2 separate regions of the Homo sapiens genome follow, and region 2 is linked to region 1. Evidence: promoter capture Hi-C in human tissues and cell types (Jung and others, 2019). All regions are on one chromosome and are shown on one strand. The core of a region is centred on a gene start or on the middle of the fragment in contact, and the rest is flanking DNA. Distances in the headings are between cores, read along the strand shown. Region 1 holds the start of PCGF5 (polycomb group ring finger 5). Region 2 overlaps LOC124902480 (a long non-coding RNA gene).

The links. Contacts are between HindIII fragments. The study calls those that stand out against the background at their distance.
Region 2: a contact is called between a fragment that was not itself captured here and the fragment with the promoter of PCGF5 in region 1, in 1 of the 25 tissues and cell types used here (hippocampus).

Annotation. Positions count from the first base shown.
Region 1 is chr10:91,217,393-91,224,211 of GRCh38, reverse strand. PCGF5 (polycomb group ring finger 5) reads right to left here and starts at 3,549. Exons shown (of 10, transcript NM_032373.5): 1 at 3,376-3,549; 2 at 1,229-1,523. The coding sequence starts at 1,340. RefSeq lists silencers at 2,926-3,220, 2,910-3,369, 3,440-3,749 and an enhancer at 3,940-4,009. The HindIII fragment of the contact is 13,387 bases long and covers 1-6,819 here.
Region 2 is chr10:91,178,920-91,185,738 of GRCh38, reverse strand. It overlaps LOC124902480 (a long non-coding RNA gene), which reads left to right. Exons shown (of 3, transcript XR_007062240.1): 3 at 1-6,471. It also overlaps a transcript of PCGF5 not described here. Among named protein-coding and RNA genes, the nearest start is that of PCGF5, 38 kb to the left of the region's middle. The HindIII fragment of the contact is 5,314 bases long and covers 278-5,591 here.

The DNA of each region.
Region 1 (6,819 bases), core at 2,300-4,799:
CATGCCCAGGCCTTACCACAAGACCCACTTTATCTCCCCAGGCAGGGTCCTGAGCATGCGTATGCTTAAATAGCTTCCCAGATGATTCTATTTTTTATTGTGGTAAAATAAATGTAACATAAATGTAACATAAAATTTGCCATTTCAACCATTTCCAGATTATTCCATCTAGCATTCATTTAAAACTACTGGTATAACATTAAGTCAGTTCAGCAGAGCAAGAATAGCTGAAAAACGAGGCTTACTAACAAAAATAAAAATTAAAAAAAAAGTACCATGGTATATTAAAGAGCATGGGTTTTGGAGTTGAATATAGGTCCACCACTCATTAGCTATGAGACTAGACAAGTTACTTATCCATTAGTTTCCACATCCATAAAATGAAGATAAATCTCTATACCTTCTCTCTCCCCCTACATCTACTCCAAAATGCTCCCAGGTCATTGTAAAGCTAAGATGAAATCACATATATCTCATTTTGGTGCACATACTAGGCATTAAACTATAACTTACTGGAATTACTTTCACTGAAATAAAAAATGAAATCATGCTGGCAGAAACACAAAGAGTATGTGTAATCTTGGCATAAGTGGCAGTAAAAAATGCCTCTTCCTCTTCCAATGGGACAGTTGAGAATGAAATCTGCTAGGAGCTCCACAGGTATACTACTACTAGAACAGTGATTCTCAAACTTAAGCATGCTTCAGAATCACCTGGAGGGCTTGTTAAAACAGATTGCTGGGCCCACTCTCAGAGTCTCCGGCTCATTAAATCTAGGGTAGGGCCTGATAATCTGCATTTCTAACAAGTTCCTAGAACTTGCAATGACACTGGTGCTGCTAGTCTAGGAATCACACTTTGAGAACCAGCGAATTAAGAGTCTGCATATCCTAAAAGAATCTCTGAGATTAATTCCTTGAGTATAAATTTTTAAAATAAAAAAACCTGAAATAGTTCACTTAAAAAAACCATAACTGATAATATGCTTATGATTTTTAGAATATTTTACAATGTGATAAGAGTCAACTACTGAGATTCAAATAAAAGCAAAATTTCATGCCACTGGCAACCCAATGACAAATATTCTGAAAATTCAAAGTTAAAATAATTATTAGAATACTCATTTCTTAAAAGTTACAACATAGATAAAAACAAAACATGGCAATTTTAAAAGAACAAAATGTACATATAAACTTTGATAGGTATAATAACCTAAAAGAATACTTACATGTATGGAGGCATTCCGTCACTGTTGTTGGCTTGATCAGATACCCTTTACAGATATAGCAGGTAATGTAAGGATTAAAATCTTTCACCAAGTGTTTCCTTTGGGTAGCCATTCGTGGCTAGTGAAGACTGGCTTTAGTAGTCTGGGCAAAGAGGGGTCCTAAGTAGATGAAAGTCTGATCCCAGGAGCTGGTGTGTCGTTCCCAGTAGGATGTCCTGAGGCATGAGAACTAGCATCCAGATTTATCATGAGATCGTTGATCATCACTCCTTTTGGTGGTTCCGCTTTCCCATGTCTGTTTCCAAAATCATTTCAAAAAGATGAGAGAAAAAAGCGTCAAATTCCTCATAATGTATTAATGTCATTCTATTAACAGCAAGTGTTACATGTTCCCAATTGGGTGAATAGGTGAATAGAACATATCCTTCATTGTATCATTAACTTGCAAATCTGCTATAATTCAGAATAATGACAAATTCATCCAGTCCTGGAACCTCAACTACCACCTCTATACTAATGACACCCAAAGCTATTAACTACAGTTTGATATCTTTACCTCTTCACTAATGCATTTTAACTATCTGCTTGACTGCTCTATTAGGAGTCCCTGCCAATACAAGTTAAAAGATTAAAAACTTAAGTAATTATCCTCCCTATCAAAATGTTCCCCATTTCCATTTTTAACCCTTCATCCAGTTACGAGTCAAACCAAGTTGATATCCTCTGCTATTCCATGCCCGGCTGCTCTACTTGTATATCACCTCTCCACCTGCAGTCCATCTTATATTCTGCTACGAGGCACATTTTATTTTGTGACACTTGGTTGGGTCTTCTTATCAACGAATGTCAGTGTCTTCTCTTTACAAACAGAAAAATGTTTCCCATTCTGTCACATAAGACCTTCTACAGGTTAACCTTAATATACCCTTCAACAACTTTCTTCAACCTGAAGGGATCACTCCTCTCCCACCGTCTCCTCTGCAGGTTCTAAGCACTCTATCCAACACGCCCTTTCTCTCCTCTGTCTGCATGCCACCTATCCTTCAAGCCCTTCTCCAATGCTATTCTCAGTGCAATCTTTCCCTAGTTTTTAATGCTTACTTCTTTCCTATTACATTTGCCTTTTATTTTGATTTATAGTTACGTTCATTCTTTACCTTCTTTGTTAGACCAAAAACTCTTCAATAGAAACTGGTCATATTTAGTAGATATATAACCTGGATAATGCTACTTTCCTGTCTCAGGTTTTTTTTTTTTTTTAACTGTAAAATATGTATCCTCTCAGAAAACACAACATGAAAGGTGTTGATTTTCCTAAGTGCATTCTATAAACAGGAACTTTCCCCCATCTTAGCTGTTAACTCATTGGTAAATATAAAGCAACCGGAAAGGTAAAAGGCATTCCATCAACACATACCCACTGCGAATGTGCAGGGAATAGGCTCTACGTGTAATCATCCTATCCTCTTGGGAAACCGTATTCGTGCGTGTAACAGAAAGCAAGCATAATTAAAAGACAGGGAATCAGGGTTCTGGCCCTTACCCCTGTATGACCTTCAGCAAACCGTTTCATATCTGAGCCTGGGTCTCGGCTTCCTCCTCTATAAGTTGGGATTAACTGCCTTGCCTTTCCCACAGGTTTGCCATGAAACTCCAAAGTAAGAGAAAGTCCTCTGGAAGAGGAAATGCACGGTCCCGACCTGGGGTGGTACTAAGATCCTAAGGCACAGAGCCCTGTGACCAAGACAGTTAAGGGAAGCAAGAACTTGCAATGACGGGGCGGGGGCAAGGGGGAACTTTTCTGCGTTCTCCGGCAGGACCCAGCGGTACAGCCCTGTGGGGTCCCAGCACAGCCGCGCCCGCCCGGCAGGTGCGCGGGCCCAGGCCCCGCGGGCGCGCTGCTCAGGCCGGGGAGAGCGAGCAGCCTTTCCCGGGGCCGGCGTCCGCAGCCGGCCGCTCTCCCCGCCGAGGTAGGCACAGCTCCGAAGCCCCCGCCCGGGTCGGTAGCCCCCTGCACCCGAAGGGCCCTCCCGGCTCCAGGCTGGGCCGGCCAGGGCAGGTGTCTGGAGGTGTCGCTCTCGCCTGAGGCGCAAACTTGGGTGAGGAGTCTGGCGTCCCTGCAGCTCCCCAGCCCGCCCGGTACCTACCCAGCGGCCGCCACCGCCGCCGCTCCTCGCCCGCCAGCGCGCCGGCCTCAGAGTGAAGGAAAGTGAAACAGAAACAGCACCCGCCGCGGCCTGGCCGGTCCCCGCGCCCCGTCTGCTCTCCCCCTGCAGGCGGGAGCGCGCCGGCTCTGTGGGGCCACTCGGCTCAGGCCCGACAGGGCGCGGCGGGCCTCGGGGCCCAGGTCCGGTGCCGCCTCCAAGGGCAACTCCACCCACTTCCAACCGGCGGCACCGCCCGCCCCGCCGCCCGGCCACGCCCCCGCCGCCCGGCCACGCCCACCACCACGCCCGGAGGCCGCGCCTGCCGCCTGCGCTGCTCGCAGGTGCAGCTGCCGCCCTGGCTCCCTGTGCTACACGTAGCTCTGGCCAAATATTATCTCGGTTCTTCTTATCCTCACCGTCCACCCCTTCGGTTGTTTACATCATAACAATGACTGGCATATTTTCCCTGGAGGGTTTAAAAGCAACGGTCAGTGATGAGACTGACGCACCCTGAGAATTTGTCTCTTCAGCTGCGTCTTCCCCAAGTCTGTCCCACCTGCGCCGAAGTGGGGACAAAGCCATCCCTTGATTTGCACCTTATCTGAAAATGACTGACAAACTTGTTACTGTAGTGTGGGTCCAGAGATCATGGTCGTTGACAACTATAAGCAAACGGGAACGTTGTGGAGGTTGAGGGTGGGGGGAGGGTGAGTGGTAAAGAAGCATTACTGTTTGCAACGTTCAAAACAAACAAAAACCCAGTACTCTTTCTAGTGGACTTTGAGATCTACAAGAGACCATTCACTGCAAAAACCTTCATTCAAAAATGTGTATTCTAGAAGCCAGAGCAGTGATGGCTTAAGAAAATGACAATAATAGAGGGTAGGGGAGACTGTCAATGCAAAATATTTGCTTTTTCTCCAACTGATAGGCGTTAACTTCTTACTAAAGTGATAGATGACTCTAAGTGGCAAACCAACAAACTTAACAACCGCTAGTCCAGCAGCCATACAAGTGTTCAAAGATCCATTTCAAATTTAAAATGCATCAAGCAGTAGACCAAGGCAGCTTTTTAAACTATCCATTTTATAATCAAACTTTGACATGTTTAAAAATTGCCATTTCTAATATCACAGCAGGAGCAATACATTTTCTGAAACAGCTTTAAATGACCACATTCGTATAGTCCTTTAAAGAACCATTTTCCAAAATCATACATGCCAATGTCCAAGCTGGGATCAACTTCATAAGTCGCAGCAATCACAATGAGTAAGAGAAAACAAGTGAGGTCAAATGACTTCATGGCAGTAGGATTACTCTTTATGCTTCATATCTTTCATTTCAGAGACTAAACAGAACAGTATGTGAAAAATCACACTACTTCTAGTGTGTTTAAAATATGCATTGGAGGATATTACTGTATATATACCACAATATATAAAAAAGACTTGGTATGTTCCTATTTTGTGTCTGAAACTATTTTAAATATGTTTTAAAAGAATAACAGTGGAGTCCAGGGGGCTTAAATGTGATTGGTGACCTATCACAAGTGCGGTTAATCAGTATTCCTGAAGGAAACGAGCTTGAAGGCGGGTTTTAGGATGACATATGTTAGCAATGAAGGAAGGGGTCACAAACATGTGATACAGCAGTACCTGAGGATGAATGTGGAGGTGGGGTTGCCAGAATGGACTTGGGATGAGGGAGAACTACAACTTTTATAAGGCAATCTGTGCTTTGTGTCTGGAGAGGCAGCAATAGTTTGCAGTTAAGTGTTCTGTGGTTTCGCCTCTGCCTTCTTCAGCAACCATTCCATCTCTCCCACCCCAATTTAAAAAAATGCACACATACACAAAATAAAAACAAGTTTAAAAACTCAAACATTTGTCTGGTTAAAAAAATAATAATAGGCCTGGCACGGTGGCTCATGCCTGTAATCCTAGCACTTCTGGAGGCCGAGGTGGGCGGATCATGAGGTCAGGAGTTTGAGACCAGCCTGGCCAATATGGCGAAACCCCATCTCTACTAAAACAAAAATCAGCCGGGCATGGTGACATGCGCCTGTAGTCCCAGCTACTCAGGAGGCAGAGGCAGGAGAATCGCTTGAACCTAGGAGGTGGAAGTTGCAGTGAGCCGAGATCGCACCACTGCATTCTAGCCTGGGAGACAGAGCAAGGCTCTGTCTCAATAATAATAATAAAATAAGAATAATAACAAAAGTAATGGTAAGAGGGAGTGTTGTGAAATGGCAACTTTCCTGTGTGATGTGTATGCAGATTGTAAGTATTAAAACATGGGACTTTCAGCTGCTGTGCTGCCTCTCCTTCTCCCCTGGGGCTCCTTACCAGTTACTTATCCTAGTCTAGTCCCTTGGTACTGCCAGTGGGGGCAGAGGACAAATGACGGAAGCTACAACATGAGGGGGTAGCTCTGATAACAAATCTCAAGTACCAGTGGGACCCTCAAGTAAACAAAGGCCTGGAAGCAACTGGATATAGGACCAGGGGAAAAAAAAAGGCAGGATAAAGGAATCATAGCTGGGAGTCCCCTTATCAATAATGTACTTCAGCTTTCTCATTTTATAGATGTAGAAACTAAGATCCTGAGACGTGGTGAATTCATAATTACAGAGCTGATTCTGGTAGAGCCAAGACAAAAACAAAGGTGTCAGCTTCAGTTTTCTTTAATACCTCTTGAGAGTACTTCTCAAGTCCCAGAACTTAAGGGAGGTCTGGTAAGAAACAGATTAGGGCTGCGCACGGTGGCTCACGCCTGTAATCCCAGCACTTTGGGAGGCCAAGGCGGGCAGATCAACTGAGGTCAGGAGTTCAAGACCAGCCTGGCCAACATGGTGAAATCCTGTCTCTACTAAAAATACCAAAATTAGCCAGGCTTGGTGGCAGGTGCCTGTAATCCCAGCTACTAGGGAGGCTGAGGCAGGAGAATCACTTGAACTTGGGAGGTGGAGGTTGCAGTGAGCCAAGATCGCGCCATTGCACTCTAGTCTGGGGCACAAGAGCGAGACTATGTCTAAAGAAAAAACACACAGATTAACTTTTTTTGTTGTTGTTAAACAAGGAAGAAAGAAAGGGAAGAATGGATGAGGAGAGGGAGGGAAATAACTGTCTAGATGGCACTTAGGAGTGAAGTGGCCACTGGTGATTCCCTATCAAAGAAGCATAATCCCAAAGTGATAACTGCTGCATTTGAGTATTGGCCCAGACTCTTCCAGAGAACCACAAATGGCTCTTAATAACTCCTGGAACTACTTGGAGCTATCTGTATACCTAACAAATGTTTTCATTACTTTATATTTTATATCTAGATTTTTATTTCATTTATGGCTGGGCAATGGGTGGGTAGGTAGTTCTATACTAAAAGTTCACATTCCTTTCCTGCCTAATAAATACATCATTAATTAACTGACTTTTAATGGCATAAAGT
Region 2 (6,819 bases), core at 1,685-4,184, 38 kb after region 1:
CAGGAGAACCCTTCATGAAACCACTCCACTAGGGCCTTCAGTCCGACACACAGAACTATGTGGAGTCTTGGCAGAGCAGCCACTCAGGCATACACAGAAACCCAGGAGCTTTACATAATCCAGCTCTGGGCTTCCTGGCAAAAGTAACTACAACTCAGGCAAAGAGGGAGGTTAGACCTCCATACATACCCCTAGGAAAGAGGTTGAATCCATGGGGCTCAGCAGTGATGGTCAGCGGGCCTCACTTCCACGGCACCTCACAGGATGACACACTGGCTTGGAATTCCAGCCAGGCACGGACAACAGTGTTGCATGGAGCTGTGACACAGTTCCTGGGGGAAGGGGTGGCTGCCATCTTTCCTGTTCCAGCCTGTGGGCTTTGGAGAGTCCAAACCCACGGGGGCAGAAGGGATCCCCCAGCACAGCACAGCTGCTCTACCAAAACATGGCCAGACTGCTTCTTTAAGTGAATCCCGGATCCATTCCTCCTCACTGGGTGGGACCTCCCAACCCAGGCCTCCAGCCACCCCACTGGTGTTTTCTGGCTGACAGAGATTTAAGAACCTCCTGGGAGAGAGTTCCCAGAAGGAGGGGTGGGCCACCATCTTTGCTGTCTGGGTGACTTAGCTGTTCCAGCTTCATGCTTGGAGAGCCCAAGCCAACTGGGGGCAGAGGGGGTACCCCTAGCACAGTACAGCTGTTCTAAAAAATGTGGCCAAACTGCTTCTGTAAGCAGGTCCCCTGTGTTGTTCCTCCTGACTGGGTGAGACCTCACAACTGGGGTCTCCAGCTACCTCCTACCGCTGCATTCAGGCTGGCAACAGGTCCATAACTCCCTGGGATGGGACTCCCACAGGAAGGGGTACACTGCCATCTTTGTTGCTTTGTAGCCTTCACTGGTGATACCTCCAGATACTGAAAAATCCAAGGCCACTAGGGACTGGAGCAGACCCCTAGCAAACCATAGCAGCACTACAGAAAAGTAGCCAGATTTTAAAAATAGGAAAAAAAAAACAAAACAGCAACCTCAAATACTGAAGGTAGATAAGCCCACAAAGATGAGAAAGAATCAACACAAGAACACTGAAAACTCAAAAAGCCAGAGTGCCCTCTTTCCTCCAAATGACTGTATCACCTCTCCAGCAAGTGTTCAGAACTGGGCTGAGGACAACATGGCTGAAATGACAGAAGTAGAATTCAGAATATGGATAAAACCAAACTTTCTGAGCTAAAGGAGTACATTATAACCCAAGCAAGGAAGCTAAAAATCACGCTAAAACATTGCAGGAGCTGACAGACAAAACAGCCAGTAGAGAGTACTGTAACCAACCTGACAGAGACAAAAAACACACTACAAGGATTTCATAACGGAATAAAAAGTATTAATATCAGAATAGACCACGTAGAGGAATCTCAGAGCTTAAAGACTGTGTTTCTGAAATAAGACAGGCAGAGAAGAATAGAGAAAAAAAGAATGAAAAGAAATGAACAAAACCTCCAAGAAATATGGGATTATGTAGAGACTGAATCTACCACTGACTGGTATACCTGAAAGAGATGAGGAGAATGGAACCAATTTGGAAAACATATTTTAGGATATCATCCATGAGAATGTACCCAACCTAGCTAGACAGGCCAACCTTCAAATTCAGGAAATGCAGAGAACCCCAGTAAGATACTCCATGAGAAGAACATCCCCAAGACACATAATCATCAGATTATCCAAGGTCGAAACGAAGAAAAAATATTAAAGACAGTGAGAAAGAAAGGCCAGGTCACTTTCAAAGGGAAGACAATCAGACTAATAATGGACCTCTCAGCAGAAACCCTACAAGCCAGAAGAGATTGGGGGCCAATATTCAACATTCTTAAAGAAAAGAAATTCCAACCCAGAATTTCATATCCAGCCAAACTAAGCTTCAAGCAAAGGAGAAATAGATTCTTTCAGACAAGCAAATGCTAAGGGAATTCATTACCACCAGACCTGCCTTACAAGACTCCTGAAGGACACACTACATATGGCAAAGAAGGACTATTACCAGCCACTACAGAAACACACTGAAGTACACAGACCAGTGACACTATACGGGAACTACATAAACATGTCTGCAAAATAATCAGCTAACATCATGATGACAGGATCAGATCCTCACATATCAATACTAACCTTAAATGCAAATGGGCTAAATGCCCCAATTAAAAGACACAGAATGGCAAGCTGGAGAAAGAGTCAAAATTCATCGATGTGCTATATTCAAGAGACCTACCTCACATGGAGAGACACACATAGACTCAAAATAAAAGGATGGAGGAAAAAAAAAAAGCAGAGGTTGCAATCTCAATTTCTGCCAAAACAGACTTTAAAACAACAAAGATTAAAAAAGACAAAGGGCATTACATAATGGTAAAGGGTTCAATTCAACAAGATCTAACTATTCTAAATATATATATACCCAACACAGGAACACCCAGATTCATAAAGCAAGTTCTTAGAGACCCTAATAGAAACTTAAGACTCCCACACAATAATAGTGGGAGACTTTAACACCCCACTGACAATATTAGATCATTGAGACAGAAAATTAACAAAGATACTCAGGACCTGAACTCAGCACTGGATCAAATATATACACAACACTGGATCACAGAATATACATTCTTCTCATTGCCACAAAACATGTACTCTTAAAATTGATCATATAATCGGAAGTAAAACACTCTTCAGCAAAAGCAAAAGAACTGAAATAGTAACAAACAGTCTCTTGGACCACAGCACAATCAAATTAGAACTCAAGACTAAGAAATTCACTCAAAACCATACAATTGCATGGAAATTGAATAACCTGCTCCTGAATTACTTTGGAGTAAATAATGAAATTAAGTCAGAAATCAAGAAGTTACTTGAAACTAATGACAGCAAAGATACAATGTACCAGAATCTCAAATAATGAAATTAAGGCAGAAATCAAGTTCTTTGAAACTAATGAAAGCAAAGATACAATGTAACAGAGTCTCCAGGACACTGCTAAGGCAGTGTTAAGAGGGAAATTTATAGCACTAAATGCCCATATCAAAAAGTTAGAAAGATCTCAGGTTAACAACTTAACATCACAACTAAAAGAACTGGAGAACCAAGAGGGAACAAATCCCAAAGCTAGAAGACAAGAAATAACAAAAATCAGAGCTGAACTAAAGGAGATCGTGACATGAAAAACCATTGAAAAGATCAATGAATCCAGGAGCTTGCTTTTGAAAAAAATAATAAAATATATAGACAACTAGCTAAACTAATAAAGAAGATTCAAACAAACACAATCAGAAATGATAAGGAGGGCACTACCACTGACCTCACAGAAATACAAACAACCATCAGAGAATATTATAAACACCTCTATGCTTATAAACTAAAAAATCTAGAAGAAATTGATAAATTCCTGGACCCATACACCCTCCGAAGACTGAACCAGGAAGAAACTGAATCCCTGAACAAACCAATAACGAGTTCTGAAATTGTACAAAGAAGAGCTGCGACCATTCCTACGGGAACTATTCCAAAAAATTGAAAAGGTCAAACAAACACAATCAGAAATGATAAGGGGGACATTACCGCTGACCTCACAGAAATACAAACAACCATCAGCGAATATTATAAACACCTTTATGCTTATAAACTAGAAAATCTAGAAAAAATTGATAAATTTCTGGACACATACACCCTCCAAAGACTGAACTAGGAAGAAACTGAATTCCTGAACAGACCAATAATGAGTTCTGAAATTGTACAAAGAAGAGCTGCTACCATTCCTACTGGAAATATTCCAAAAAACTGAAAAGGAGAGACTCCTCCCTAATTCATTCTATGAGGCCAGCATCATTCTGCTACCAAAACCCAGCAGAAATACAACAGAAAAGGAATTCAGGCCAGTATCCCTGATGAACATTGATGCAAAAATCCTCAACAAAATATTGGCAAACCAAATCCAGCAGCACATCAGAAAGCTTATCTGCCACCATCAAGTGGTCTTCATCCCCGGGATGCAAGGTTGGTTCAACATACACAAATCAGTAAGTGTAATTTATCACATAAACAGAACTAAACACAAACTAAAGACAAAAACCACAATTAACTCAATAGATGCAGAAAAGGCTTTCAATAAAATTCAACATCCATTCATGTTTAAAACTCTCCATAAACTAGGTATTGAAGGAACATACCTCAAAATAATAATAAAAGTGATATATGACAAACCCACAGCCAACATCATACTGAATGAGCAAAAGATGGAAGCATTCCCCTTGAAAACTGGCACAAGACAAGGATGCCCTGTCTGGCTACTCCTATTCAACATAGTATTCAAAGTTCCGGCCAGGGCAATTAGACAACCGAAAGAAATAAAGTGCATTCAAATAGGAAAAGAGGAAGTCAAACTATCCCTGTTTTTAGATGACAGGATCCTATATCTAGAAAACCCCATTGTTTCAGCCCCAAAGCTTCTCAAGCTGACAAATAACTTCAGCAAACCTCAGAATACAAAATCAATATGCAAAAATCACTAGCCTAAAATCAAATTCCTATATACCAACAAGGGTCAGGCCAAGAGCCAAATCACAAATGAACTCCCATGCACAATTGCCATAAAAATAATAAAATAGCTAAAAATACAGCTAACTAGGGAGGTGAAAGATCTCTACAAGGAGAACAACAAACCACTGCTTAAAAAAATCAGAGATGACACAAATTGAAAAACATTCCATGCTCATAGATAGGAAGAATCAATATTGTGAAAATGGCCATACTGCCCAAAGCAATTTATAGATTCAATGCTATTTCTATTAAACTACCATTGACATTCTTCACAGAACTAGAAGAAACTATTTTAAAATTCACATGGAACCAAAAAAGAGCCTGAATAGCCAAGGCAATCCTAAGCAAAAAGAACAAAGCTGGAGGCATCATGCTACCCAACTTCAAACTATACTACAGGGCTACAGTAACCAAAACAGCATGGTACTGGTATAAGAACAGACACATAGACCAATGGAACATAATAGAGAACCCAGAAATAAGACCACACACCTACAACTATCCAATCTTTGACAAATCTGACAAAAATAAGCAATGGGGAAAGGATTCCCTATTCATAAATAGCATAAATAAATGGTGCTGTGATAACTGGCTAACCATATGCAGAAGATTGAAACTGGACCCCTTCCTTACACAATATACAAAAATTAACTCAAGATGGGTTAAAGGCTTAAATGTAAAACAAAAAAATATAAAAACCCTGGAAGACAACCTATCATTCAGGGCATAGGCATGGGCAAAGATTTCATAATGAAGACACCAAAATAACTGCAACAAAAGCAAAAGTTGACAAGTGGGATCTAATTAAACTAAAGAGCTTCTGTACAGCAAAAGAAACTACCAGCAGAATAAACAGACAACCTACAGAATGGGAGAAAATTTTTGCAACCTATGCATCTGACAAATGTCTAATATCCAGCATCTATAAGGAACTTAAATTTACAAGAAAAGAAACAAACCACTCCATTAAAAAGTGGGCAAAGAACATGAACAGACAAATTTCAAAAGAAGACATACATGCCGCCAATAATGTAATGAAAAAAAGCTCAACATCACTGATCATTAGAGAAATGTAAATCAAAACCACAATGAGATACCATCTCACACCAGTCAGAATGGCTATTATTAAAAAGTAAAAAAAAATAGGTGCTGGTGAGTTTGTGGAAAAAAAGAAATGTTATATATTATTGGTAGGGGTGTAAATTAGTTCAGCCACCATGGAAAACAGTATGGCGATTCCTCAAATACCTAAAGATAGAAATACCATTCGACCCAGCAATCCCATTACTGGGTATATACCCAAAGGAATATAAATAATTCTACAAAAAAGACACATGCATGCATATGTTTATCACAGCACTATTCACAGTAGCAAAGACATGGAATCAAACTAAATGCCCATCAATGACAGACTGGATAAACAAAAAGTGGTACATACACACCATGGAATACTATGCAGCCATAAGAAAGAACAAGATCATGTCCTTTGTGGGGACATGGTTGGAGCTGGAGGCCATTATCCTTAGCAAACTAACACAGGAACAGAATACCAAACGCCACATGTTGTCACTTTTAAGTGGGAGCTAAATGATGAGAACATATGGACACACAGAGGGAAACAACACACACTGGGTCCTTTTGGAGGGTGGAGGGTAGAAGTAGAGAGAGGATCAGGAGAAACAACTAATGGGTACTAGGCTTAATTCCTGGATGGTGAAATAATCTGTACAACAAACCCCACGACACAAGTTTACTGATGTAACAAACTTGCACTTGTACCCCTAAAGTTAAAATAAATTTTTAAAAGATTAATTTTTTTTTAAAAAAGAAACAAATATTGGCTCCCTGACAGCCACTCTGATTATTCATGGGTAATCTAACTCACCTCTCCCATGTCTCTCCCTTGCTTTCCTCCTATTCCTCTGACTTAAAAGAGACCACACTAGTTCAGATCTGAGGATAGAGAGTACATGACTTGAAACCAAAGTAATGAGAGAGGACAGGATGGGAATAATACAAAAGATGTTTAGGAAGCAAGCAAAGATGTTTAATCTACCTGGGCTAGAGGAATTAGCCCTAGCTCCTTATCAGAAGCAGCTAGCAAGCTTTTAAAAATTACTAATTCCCTAGGGCTTACCCAAAGTCAAGTAAGTCAGAATCTTGAGATAGGAGAGTCATTTGAATTTTCTAAAAGCTCCCCCAAAAGATGTTGAGATAGAGTGAGTGCTGAAATC